Linked DNA regions of Homo sapiens: region 2 is linked to region 1. Evidence: promoter capture Hi-C in 16 types of primary human blood cells and fetal thymus (Javierre and others, 2016). All regions are on one chromosome and are shown on one strand. Each heading gives the region's core, a stretch centred on a gene start or on the middle of the fragment in contact. The rest is flanking DNA. Distances are from core to core; before and after follow the strand shown.

Region 1 (5,712 bases), core at 2,612-5,111:
TCCGAGAATTTTGGGAGGCTAAGGCAGGAGGATCACTTCAGCCCAGGAGTTCAAGGCTGCAGTGAGCTATGAGCCACTGTACTCTAACCTGGGCAACAGAACGAGATCCTGTCTCAAAACAAAAACAAAAACAAAACAAAAAAAAGAACCTACTTAAGGTTAGTGAAATCAAGATTAGCCACTTTTCTTCTCCACTCTAATTTTTTTTTTTTTTTTTTTGGTAGCTCTTGGCCTGAATTTCAAGTTCAGCTCCACTTCTTACTTATCTTTTCCGTGCCCAAATTCCCTCTTCCATAAAAATGGGAGTAACAGTAGCACTTAATTCACAGGGTTGTAATGATTTAATGTACTGAATTTCATGTAGAATACCTGCAACAATGCTTGGTGTATAGTAAGCTTGAATAAATGTTAGATATTATAGTTGTCGCCTCACAAATTACACATCTAAATTAAAATAATAATTGCTCATATTACCTTCCATTTCCAGCCTTTTAAACCACTTAAATAGCTCACTAGAGGTTATAATCCATAGCTACTATGAAGCAAGCTCTCACCATGGCCAGGCAGCATATTATAGATTTAACCTTTATTATCCCAATGCCCTCAGTAACCCTATATGTATTATTCCATTTGTATAGTTATAACATATTCCATAACATTGTTATCCAGTACAAACTCACAGAATTAGCAAAATGCAGAATTAGAATTTAAGTCGAGTTTTTGTGTGGTGCAAAACTAATGCTCTTTGCCTTGGACTACATTGCCTATTCATTGTCAGAAAACGGTACCCCAAAATTTGGTGCTTTGACATGCTGAACTAGAGAAGCAGCCGCAAGGTTTCTCTGATCTCCCCACCCCACCTCCTGCCTCTCAATCCTCTGCCTCCCCCAAAACACGGGATAAGACTGTTCTTTGAAGTTTCTTATCTACCTAGAAACCACACACATCAAAGAACACAATTGCTTTCTATCTGCTTCCTCCCTGAAATTTCATTAACCAGAAGAAATTAAAACATATCACAAAGCCAGATACAGTGGTGCACACATGTAGTCCCAGCTACCTGTGAGTCTCAGATGGGAGGATTCTTGAGGCCAGGAGTTTGAGGCTGTAGTGTGCTATCATCATGCCTGTGAATAGCCACCACACTCCAGCCTGGGCAACACAGTGCGACCTGGTCTCATAAAAAAACAAAACTCACATCATAGAGGAAGAGACTGAAAATTAACCACCACACTTAGAGCCCAAACTTTGCCTCAAACTACTGTTTTTTGTTTTTGAGACAGGGTCTCACTCTGTCACCCAGGTTGGAGTGCAGTGGCGAGATCTTGGCTCACTGCAACCTTGCCTCCGGGGCTCAAGTGATCCTTCTATCTCAGCCTCCCTAGTAGCTGGGATTATGGGAGTGAGTCACCACGACTGGCCTTCGAATTATTATTGGTTCTCTAGTTTCACTTGGTTTACAAAGAGAATAATTTACAAGTGAATTTCTGCATTAATCTCTCCTAAAATCATTTACTACTCCTCTAAAATTGCCTGTAGCCCCCCCACCTCTCTCTCCCCTATGAAAAGTATTAAACTTCAACCATCTGACCCTTTTTTTAGTTTTCTTATTTTGTTGTATCATTCCCATGCTTATGCACATTAATTTTCTCTTGTTAACCTGTCTTTTATTAACAAGCATGTTGTCATGACTCTTTTGATGGGGAGGAAAGTGATCACCCCCTTTCCACCCCTTCATACTACACTACCTTTCCATTTCCTAACCCGTTTGTAGGAGGTTACTGAAGCTTGCATTAATTTCTTCAATAGATATTTATCCAGACTAGTATAATCCAGGTGCTGGGGAAACAGTGGTGAACAAGACAGGCACACCTCATGAAACTCACAGAACTGAAAGGTGAATGGATTACTATCTTCATCCTTTTTTTGTTTCGTTTTTTTCCTTTCATACCTAGTCCTGCACATGCATCCTTAACTTCTGCAGTGTGGTATATGGGAACTGGATCCGCTCCTAAATAGGTATGTGACTTCTCTGAGCTTTATCTTCTTCACTTAAAAATTACAAGCATCGGCCGGGCACGGTGGCTCACGCCTGTAATCCCAGCACTTAGGGAGGCTAAGGTGGGCGGATCACAAAGTCAGGAGTTCGAGACCAGCCTGGCCAACATAGTGAAACCCCGTCTCTACTAAAAATACAAACATTAGCCGGGTGTGGTGGCACGCGCCTGTTGTCCCAGCTACTCGAGAGGCTGAGGCAGGAGAATCGCTTGAACCCAGGAGGCGGAGGTTGCAGTGAGCCAAGACCATGCCATTGCACTCCAGCCTGGGTGACAGAATGAGAGACTCCATTCCACCCCCCATAAAAAATTACAAGCATCTGTAAATACATAATCTCAAATAAAAATCTTCGTGTATATCTCCATTTTTAAAATGATAGAAACGAGAGTCTCAATGATTACCTTGAAAAGATCACAAGGAAAATGAAACAAACATGAATTAAGTACCTGTAAGATAGTTTGCTGGTTACTTTTACATATATGATAAATGATGGATCAGGGACTTCAACCTAGATCACAAAATCACCACCACACTGCCCTGCTTCTGTCATGGGAAACACACTTTGATAATTTCTTCATTCTTTCTCCACTCCCTGGACTTGAAGCCCGAGAAGTAATCCATCCGCAAATATTGAACACTTTTTATATTCATATATGAAACGCACAGTACACAGTTTTTAAAAACTGGTCTCTGTTGTCAAGGAACTTTTGAGCCATTCAGAGAGACAACACTTAAAACACACACACACACACACACACACACAAACTGAGGGAAGTATGAAGTGACCAAATAATGGTATACAAAGATGATCTCATTTGATCCCTATTACCACTCTTTGAGGAGGTACTATTATTATTGCTCTTTTATAGAGAAGAAAAGGTAGCTCTGTAGGCAGTAAGCAAGTCTCAAGGTTACTCAAGCAGGAAAGGGCAAAACAGATTCAAATCCAAGTTCTGACTCCTAAGACTTTCTCTAACTATATATGGTAAGACAAACCCAGAAACTCCAGTTCCCTAAGCAAGTAATAGACCCCATTTGGCTAGGAGGGCTGGATAAATACTGAGAAAGGGGGAAGATGAAGCCGAAAAGGTAGGCTAGGGCCTAATGTAACTCACGGACTTCAGAATGCAGACTGTAGGAATCCACTAAAGGTTTCTTATTAAGGCAGAAATTACTGCAGTCTTAACTTGACATAGTAGTTTCTCAACTTGGTAGAAGCAGACTATACAAAAAGTAACTTTACAGTTGGCTACGTGACTTAGACAAATTACTCTCTCTGACCTCAACTCTTACAGGTAATTGAGAGGAGAATTCTATATTTGGACAATCGCCGTGATTAAACGAGTGTATGAAAGGCGTCTGAAGCTAGGGGGCGCTAGATAAACACTGATTTCCCCTTTAGGGAAAAAGAATGCAGGCTTTTTGTTTACATAGAGTTGGCAGGCATGCGTTATCCAGCAAGGCCGGAACGGAAGACACTCTCAGCCTCAGCTGCAACCACATCTGGGTATGCAGAAACCTTCTAAGATCCCAGCGTTTCCAGGGAGATGCTCCATTTCCCCTCACTTCTCCGGACCTGTCGCTAGACCATGAAGACCTGACTGCCCTCTAATAAAGTGCCTAGCCAGCACTCTTAGACCGCCCAACCTTCCCAGCTCTTCCTTCCGAGGCGGCTACTCGATGACATCACATCCACTTCCGCTTCCGAAGGCGGCCTCTTTTCATTCCTCGGGACCGCTCTAGGCTGCCACCACGCCGGCTGGCCCCAAAAACTCGATGGTTGTTGGGCGGGGTCGTGACGTCCTTGGCGTGGCTGCAGGGGAGGCCGCGGCGGGGAAAATGGCGGACGGGAAGGCGGGAGACGAGAAGCCTGAAAAGTCGCAGCGAGCTGGAGCCGCCGGAGGTGAACACAACCCCAGCGTCGTGGGCAGCGTGGGATGCTCCGGGCCTTTCTTTGAGCTCCCAGGGTGGGGGGAGTGGGGTGGGGCGAGAATGGGCGGATCTGGACCTCACCCGGCCAGGTGTTGGGCCCAGACCTGCCTCGGGCACGCCCGATGCGGCCCTCTGGGCTCCGGGCCTACATCGCCTCCTTGCCTGGGGAGAGCCGGCCACTGTTCGTCACCTCCTGGCCCCAGCGGAGGCCCTGATTCCGAGGAGAAGGGAGATGGGCGCCAGAAAGGGAGACCGAACTCGGGGTGGGACCAGGAGCGGCGGTGCAGGAGCCGCTACCGCCACACCGGAGACGCACATCACACAAAACACACACACCGGAGACGCTCATGAGACATAACATACACACAGTGCGAGCCACCGAGTAGTTGCCGCGGGAACTGGCCGCAGGCTGAGTTTCTGACGGTGCCGGCCTCTCAGTTACACGCAGGAGTTAATTACGCTTGCTGCTCCCTTTTCACTGAGGAGGTGGACAACTCCGGCCTGCTCTCTTTCCTTTACTTCCAAGTTTAATATTGACCCTGTGACAGGATGGGCCGAGGTGATGGAGGGGAAGAGGAATGCCTTTGCCTGCCCTCTGGTTTAAGCTGCGGGGTCTAGGGCTAAGGTTTGGTTGCTTTTCTTTGAAGTATCTCCCTTAGGCTGTTGCCAGCTGACCGCTTGCCAGATACTTAGGCGACTAAATAGTCTAGCGTGACTCTTCCTGTATTTTGTTACGACGTTAAACTCAGGTTACAGCTATCCTTATTCTGTCCATTCCACTCCCTAAATTCGGGTCTTGTGCGTGAAGGAAAAGAAACGTAATCTCTCCAGCTCCCTCTTTGCACATAACAAGACAAGTGACTTAACACGTGCGAGCTGTTTAAAATGTTTTTAGAACATTTTAAACATTATTCTCTATTCTGACCACCTTAGTTATCATTCCCGAAATTATTTAATATGAGAAAATAGAAACGATTAATAGCATATGAAGGCCACTAGTAGACCTACTAACATAATGTTTCATGTTAATTGCCTTGGGAACAAAAATTATTGAAAAGATTAAGTGTAATGTTAATTACTTTGGACCCAGGATTTCCTTTTTAAAAAACACGTACAATTCTGTTAGTTAAGCTGGAACTCCATCTCTCTCTTCCCTCCCCACCCCCTGTCTTTTTTTTTTTTTATAACTAGTAAAATACCTTATGAAAGAACAATTTAAATTTAAACCATCTACTACTTTCTCACTAGGGAATTTTTTTTCCCAAAAAAATTGTATTGGAAATTGTGGGATAAAATTACATAAAAGTTTAAAAGTAGTTTGAGGAAAAGCAAAAAATTTTAGACGTAGTTTGAGGAAAAGCCTAAAGAATCATGTGTTGATTTTAAGGCCATCTCGTTAACTGTCTTGACCGAGGGTAGCAGACGTGTTTAATGTGCTGTCAAAATGTACCTTGAGTGTCATTATAAATCCACTGTATAATTTACCTGCCATTCTTTCAGTTGAGGGTTATTAGTTCTATAGTATGAATATTGATGTTTCCATTTTAGCATGTGGGGAGAAGTAGTAGAGAATTACTTTGCTAATTGGTATCAGAAAAATTATTATGGTCTTTTTCTTGGTAACTTAGAGTAAGTAAATATCCCTTAACTTCTACATAATTTGTCTCCTTGCCGTTACAAGAAAGTAGTGCTGTTAAGTTTAAGCCATTTTTGAATGTCAGA
Region 2 (5,712 bases), core at 1,242-3,741, 7.0 Mb after region 1:
AACAGCTTTATTCTTAATTCCACCCAGAAATGTAAACAACCCAAATGCCTATCAACAGGAAAGTGTATGTAAACTGTGGTACACTTATACAATAGAATTCTACACATCAATAATAAAAAAAATGAAGTAGCGGTACATGTGCAACATGAATTTCACAGATTTTATTGAGTGGAAAAGGCCAGACACAAGAGTACATATTGTATGAGTCTACTTACCCAAACCTTATGTGAAGAGGCAATGAAGAAACCCTATGGGGCTAGAAATGTTCTGTATCATGATACAGGTGGTAGCTACTCTACCTATATGTTAGCTACCAATATGGTAGCTATGGTACCTATATATTAAAAACTATCAAACTCTTCACTTAAGATTAATGCACTTTATGCTCTGTATGTATTTTATCTCTTAATTACAAAAAGTCCTTTTTAGTAGTAACCTGAAGCCAGTGCTCTTCATACCTTTGCAACAACGGTAGAAGAGTTTTATGTAAACCCCTTGAAAGTTTAGGAATACAGTAAAGACCCCATCCCATATTTTGTTTAAGTCTCTCTTTTTTTTTGTTTTGTTTTTGAGACGGAGTCTCACTCTGTCACCCATGTTGGAGTGCAGTGGAGCGATCTCTACTTATGCAACCTCAGCCTCCCGAGTTCAAGCGATTCTCCAGCCTCAGCCTCCCGAGTAGCTGGGACAACAGAGAGACGCCACGCCCAGGTAATTTTTGTATTTTTAGTAGAGACGGGGTTTCGCATGTTGGTCAGGCTGGTCTCAAACTCCCGACCTCAGGTGATCCGCTCGCCTCGGCCTCCCAAAGTGCTGGGATTACAGGTGTAAGCCCCTGTGCCTTAAATCTCTTTCAGTGCACAACCTTCCTGTTTATTCAAAGAAAGGTAATGCTTCAGAATAGCATACAAAATGCTTAACTCCCGATTTTTAAATTAAACGGACTGCCCTGCTTATTCTGCGGCTTCTGGAGCCTATGCTAATTCAGAAGCAAAGCCTTAAGCATTTAACAGCTAACACCTTAATTATTAGGTTTGCAGGCACTTCTTAAAATAAAGAATGAAAAAGAGAAAACAAATGTACTTAGGAGATGGGCACTTGAAGTAGGGAAAAGAGGAGCACCAGTGAAGCTCAAGATAAGACAGACACATTTAATACAACAGCAGCTTCACTAACAGCTGCTGTTGCTCTACTACTGGAAATCATTTTTTTCCTGTAATATTTTACAAATTTTTGGCACATTAGTCTTTTATCATAGGGTTAATATAATACAATATATTTTAAAATTATGTTCAATTCTACCTTAACAGAGGAAAGCTGTGACACAGAGAGTTAAAATAAGCCTTAATTGAGCTTTAAAAAAATTAAACTGAGGTCAATGTTAGTTTGAATTCCGTAAATGCAAAACAAATGAAAGCAGAAGATTAAGATCCTAAAACAAACGGAATCGTCTGGACACATATCACTAGAATAGAAAAAAAGGCAATTCAGCATTCTAAGATTAAAAAACTGTAAGCAATGTATTTTGGTAAAGAAAAAGGATTACGCTTACTAGGAAGGGGAAGTGCTTCTTAATGTTGAAATAATGTTTTTCAAGTTTGAGTTCAACCCGAGTTCAAGTAAGAGCAGTAAGCAACAAATTCAATTATAGATTACCGAAGGGCAAAACCAAGTTTTAATCATGACTTTCCGTCACTGAGAATAGTTGTGTATTGAGGGCTTGGTTTCGTAGAAAAACCAAAACTAGAAGCAAAGGAAAAGATAAAGTTCCGAGCTTTTTCCGTTACCTACTCGAAACAACCTGAACTTCCCAACCTTTTGCCCCACTCCCGCTTTTCCTAGAGCCTTCAGTGAGCGCTCTTGCCTCTCGCTGCGGCCAGCGGAACCCCGACACTCACTAGCCTTTACCAGTACGAAAAGACAACAGAGGGATCGAAGGACTGTCCTTTCTTTCCCAGGCTGGGGCCGCCACTCCTCGGCCTCACTGTGAAATAAGAATTGCTAGGGGAAGCCCCATCTGTCCTCTACCCCAGAGCCTCTCACCTCCAAGTGCCGCAAAAGCTGAGTGGCGTTCGCCTCTGACTTCACGGCTTTGTACTGACTGACAGTCAGGAGCAAGGACTTCAAGCAGGCAGTGGAGTCCATTGCACCGGCCGCGGCCCGGCTTAGGGACCACCACCGCCCAGCGTGCGCCGGCCTTTAGCTTTCGCCGCGCTTTTTTTGATTTTCGGCCCCACCCCCTCGCTCTCAGAAGCTTCCGGATCCGGTCGGGCTCCGGAAGTCCCTAGGCACCCTAGGGGACCGTTCTCGGTGACGGCCGGGGTGGGCCAGGGGTCGAGGTGATTTGTGGGTCCAGGACGGGGGTTGGGAGCTGCCCCCGCTAACCCACCCTCGTCTGAGAGGCCGCGAGGTTTCGGCCTGAGATCCCGTGAAGGCGAGAAATCTCGCGATTTCTCGGGAGAGGAATCGGTTAGGAGAAGGGGGATTCCTCACTCAGCTGTGCGCTCTGATTTCGTGCGCTTCCTCGTCCTTCATGTTGGATGGCCAGTTTTTCGTTTGTGCGTCATCCTCTACCTGAGAAATGGTCGCTTGCCCCTAGTCTAGACACGGTGAGGAGCTCTGAGGAGAAGAATCTTGGGCCCTAGATTTTGAGGCGGCCTGGGAGGGGCCTCGTTTTTAAATCTCTCCTACACCCGCCCCTTCTGCCCGGGGATGGTAGTTTCTCAGAGTCAACCTATTGGCATTATGTGGCAAATTAGTCATGCCCTGACCAAAGTATTTGTCACATTTATTCGAGAAGACTACCTCCTGCTGACCCTGGGCCAGGTATTGCTCCGGAGGGTGTTACTCGTTAGCGTCAGTTTTTGTAAGTGAAGGTGTCTGTTTCTCTCTGGCATGATTGATTGTTTTATAATTCTCGATGTCTACGAAAATGGCACTATTATTTGCGTTTTTTAAATCGGAGATAGCTTAATATTATTGCATGTGTATGTAATGAAGCGAGTCAGTTACTGGTTTTGGAGCTTTTTGCTTAATATTTCCTAACGTCGAATAAAGCTTTAAAAACCAGGATGTAGAAATTGTAAGAATAGGGTACATTTCCATTTAATTAAATCGTTTATCAGAAATCATGTTTTTTCACTTCAAAAGAATTTTTTTGAATTACTAGATTTTTGAAGACAGGTTTGGTGTTTTGGTTTTGTTTTTTATAAAAGTTTAAATCTGAAAGATAAAAATGATTTAACCAGTTGGGACATTCATGTAAAAATCTTTGGGTAGCTTGTGTGTTCATTTATGCTTTCATTCATTCCGTAAACAATTATAGAGCGTGTAACATGGGTTAGAAACTGCCAGTCAGGGAACAGAGATGAAGTAGTATCCCCTGCTGCGAGGGAACTGTCTAGTAAGGGAAACATACAAAATAGTACTTTTGAAATTCACCACATAAATGAGAGGCACCATGCAGTAACATGCAGCAGTGGTAAAGAGTAGAGAGCCAGGTTGCTTACAGATTCTAGCTCCACCTTTGACGATGTGACTCTAGGCAAGTTCTCACTGCTGCAGAATCTTCATTAGGTAAAATCTGGCCAAGGGAGATACCTGGTTCATAGGACTGTTCATTCAATAAGTAGTTCATTGAGAATCTACAATGTGCTAAGCACTTTTCTAGACACAATAGACTCAGTGAAAAAAACAAAAATACTACTGGCATGCAACTTACATTTTGGTAGGGAACCAAATAATAAACACAATAAATAAGTAAGGAAAATGATATAAAGAGAAAAATAGACGTTATTACTCTAGAATAATGTTGGTAATTGATAAGGGAAATGGGAAGGTGACCTCATTAAGAAAGCAACATTTGGGGAAATGCTTCAAGGAGTTGAGAAAGGGAGCCATATTCTATGGGAAAAGGTTTTTAGATAGAGGAAATGGCAAAGAAAGACCCTAAAGTGGGATACTGTATGCCAGAAACAAGGATGCCATGTGGCTAGTGTAGAAAGAACGAGGAGGAGAGGAGTAGAGATGAGGTCCTATACGGTCTTGGAGATGGTTAAAAAATGAATTAATGTAAAGTGTCAGCTGTCATCTGGCATAATTAAGTTCTCAGTGTTACAGTCAGTGCCTCATTGGCAAATGAAGTGATCAGAGTTTGATAGTGTTGGACTTTTCATCTGTGATGATGTGTCAGCATCGTCCCCATTCAGAGGCCCAGGGTAATGCGCAAAGCTGCGTGCTATCAGTGCCATCTTTGTTGGATTTTGACTTAAGCAGTCATACAAATTTTGTATTCTCTTCTGTAATTAATATCAAATGTCTTTCTCAAAAAATCTTCACCAAAATTGATGTTGTAAGTTTAGTAAGAGGGATCGTTTCTAGCTGTGATAAGTCTTGACATTTTTAATCAGAGATACTTGCATATCCTAATTTGAGAAACACCAATCCATACTTTTAGGCCTCAAAAAGGGAAGAAAAGGAGCAGGAGGCCAGGAGCAGTGGCTCACGCTTTTAATTTCCAGTTTTTTGGGAGACTAAGGCAGGAGGACCTTGAACCCAGGAGTTGGAGCCAGCCTAGGCAACATAGTGAAACGCCATCTCTACAAAAAATGAAAAAATTAGCCGGGCATGGGTGTGCTCACTTGTAGTCCTAGCTACTCTGGAGGCTGAGTTGGGGGGATCACTTGAGGCTGCAGTGAGTGTGATTGTGCCACTGCACTGTAGCCTGGGTGGCAGAGTGAGACCCTGTCAAAAAAAAAAAAAAAAAAAGAGATGAGTCTGGGTCCCAATGACCAAAGGCCTTATTAGCCTTAAACTTGGACTCCATCTTGAAGTCCGTGGCAATCTCTGGTTTTAAACTGGCACCTGGTCTAGTCAGGTTTGTTTTTAGATTGATTACTCTGGTAGCTGAATGAACTATGATTTTGGGGAGGATAAGACTGGAAAGAGGGACACTAATTTTCTGGAACCTTCTAAAGGATAACCAGGATAATTGAGGTGGAGATACAAAATAGGTGACAAATTCGAGAAGTATATATGAAGTAAAATAGGTAGGATTTGGTGACTGATAGTGGATGTGAGGCATGAAGAGAGGGATGAGTCTAGCAGATACTAAGTTTTTAGGTTGGATGAATGAGAAGATACAGATACTGCTGAGTTAGTTAATAGAAAGTATTAAGGGTGTGCCAGGCGTAGTGGCTCATGCCTTTTATTCCAGCACTTTGGGAGGCTGAGGCAGGAGGATCTCTTGAACCCAGGAGTTCAAGACCAGCTTGGGCAATATGGTGAAACCCCACCTCTACTAAAAATACAGAAAATTAGATGGGTGTGGGTGGTGCATGCCTGTAGTCCCAGCTACTCAGGAGGCTGTCATGGGAGGAACACCTGAACCTGGGAAGTCAAGGCTGCAGTAAGCCATGTTTGCCCCACTGCACTCCAGCCTGGGCAATGTGGGCAACAGGAGGGAGACCCTGTCTCAAAAAAAAAAAAAAAAAAAAGTATTCAGGTTATATTTTATGTTCAGTGAGATTTTATATAGTTTGTCATACTGTCTTGTTCCATTCTTATTATGTTTATTTATCATTACGTTTATTCTAATAGAGATTGGTTTACTTAGACTTTCTGCCTATATATCATCTGCAAATAATTACCTCACCCCTTCCAGTATTTGTTGTCTTACATTATTGCATTAGTGTAAGCTCCAAAATATGGAAA

What was found. The method cuts DNA at HindIII sites, captures the fragments that hold promoters and counts their contacts. A CHiCAGO score of 5 or more calls a contact.
Region 2: a contact is called between the fragment with the promoter of DZIP3 here and the fragment with the promoter of PCNP in region 1, in 1 of 17 cell types (naive B cells). The highest score is 6.8, in naive B cells.

Annotation. Positions count from the first base shown.
Region 1 is chr3:101,570,319-101,576,030 of GRCh38, forward strand. It overlaps PCNP (PEST proteolytic signal containing nuclear protein), which reads left to right and starts at 3,862. Exons shown (of 5, transcript NM_020357.3): 1 at 3,862-3,961. The coding sequence starts at 3,898. RefSeq lists enhancers at 3,073-4,018, 3,462-3,731, 3,832-3,961, 4,042-4,201, 4,222-4,381. The HindIII fragment of the contact is 5,212 bases long and covers 1,786-5,712 here.
Region 2 is chr3:108,587,231-108,592,942 of GRCh38, forward strand. It overlaps DZIP3 (DAZ interacting zinc finger protein 3), which reads left to right and starts at 2,492. Exons shown (of 33, transcript NM_014648.4): 1 at 2,492-2,609. It overlaps CIP2A (cellular inhibitor of PP2A), which reads right to left and starts at 2,208. Exons shown (of 21, transcript NM_020890.3): 1 at 2,044-2,208. The coding sequence starts at 2,145. RefSeq lists an enhancer at 2,407-2,686. The HindIII fragment of the contact is 803 bases long and covers 2,253-3,055 here.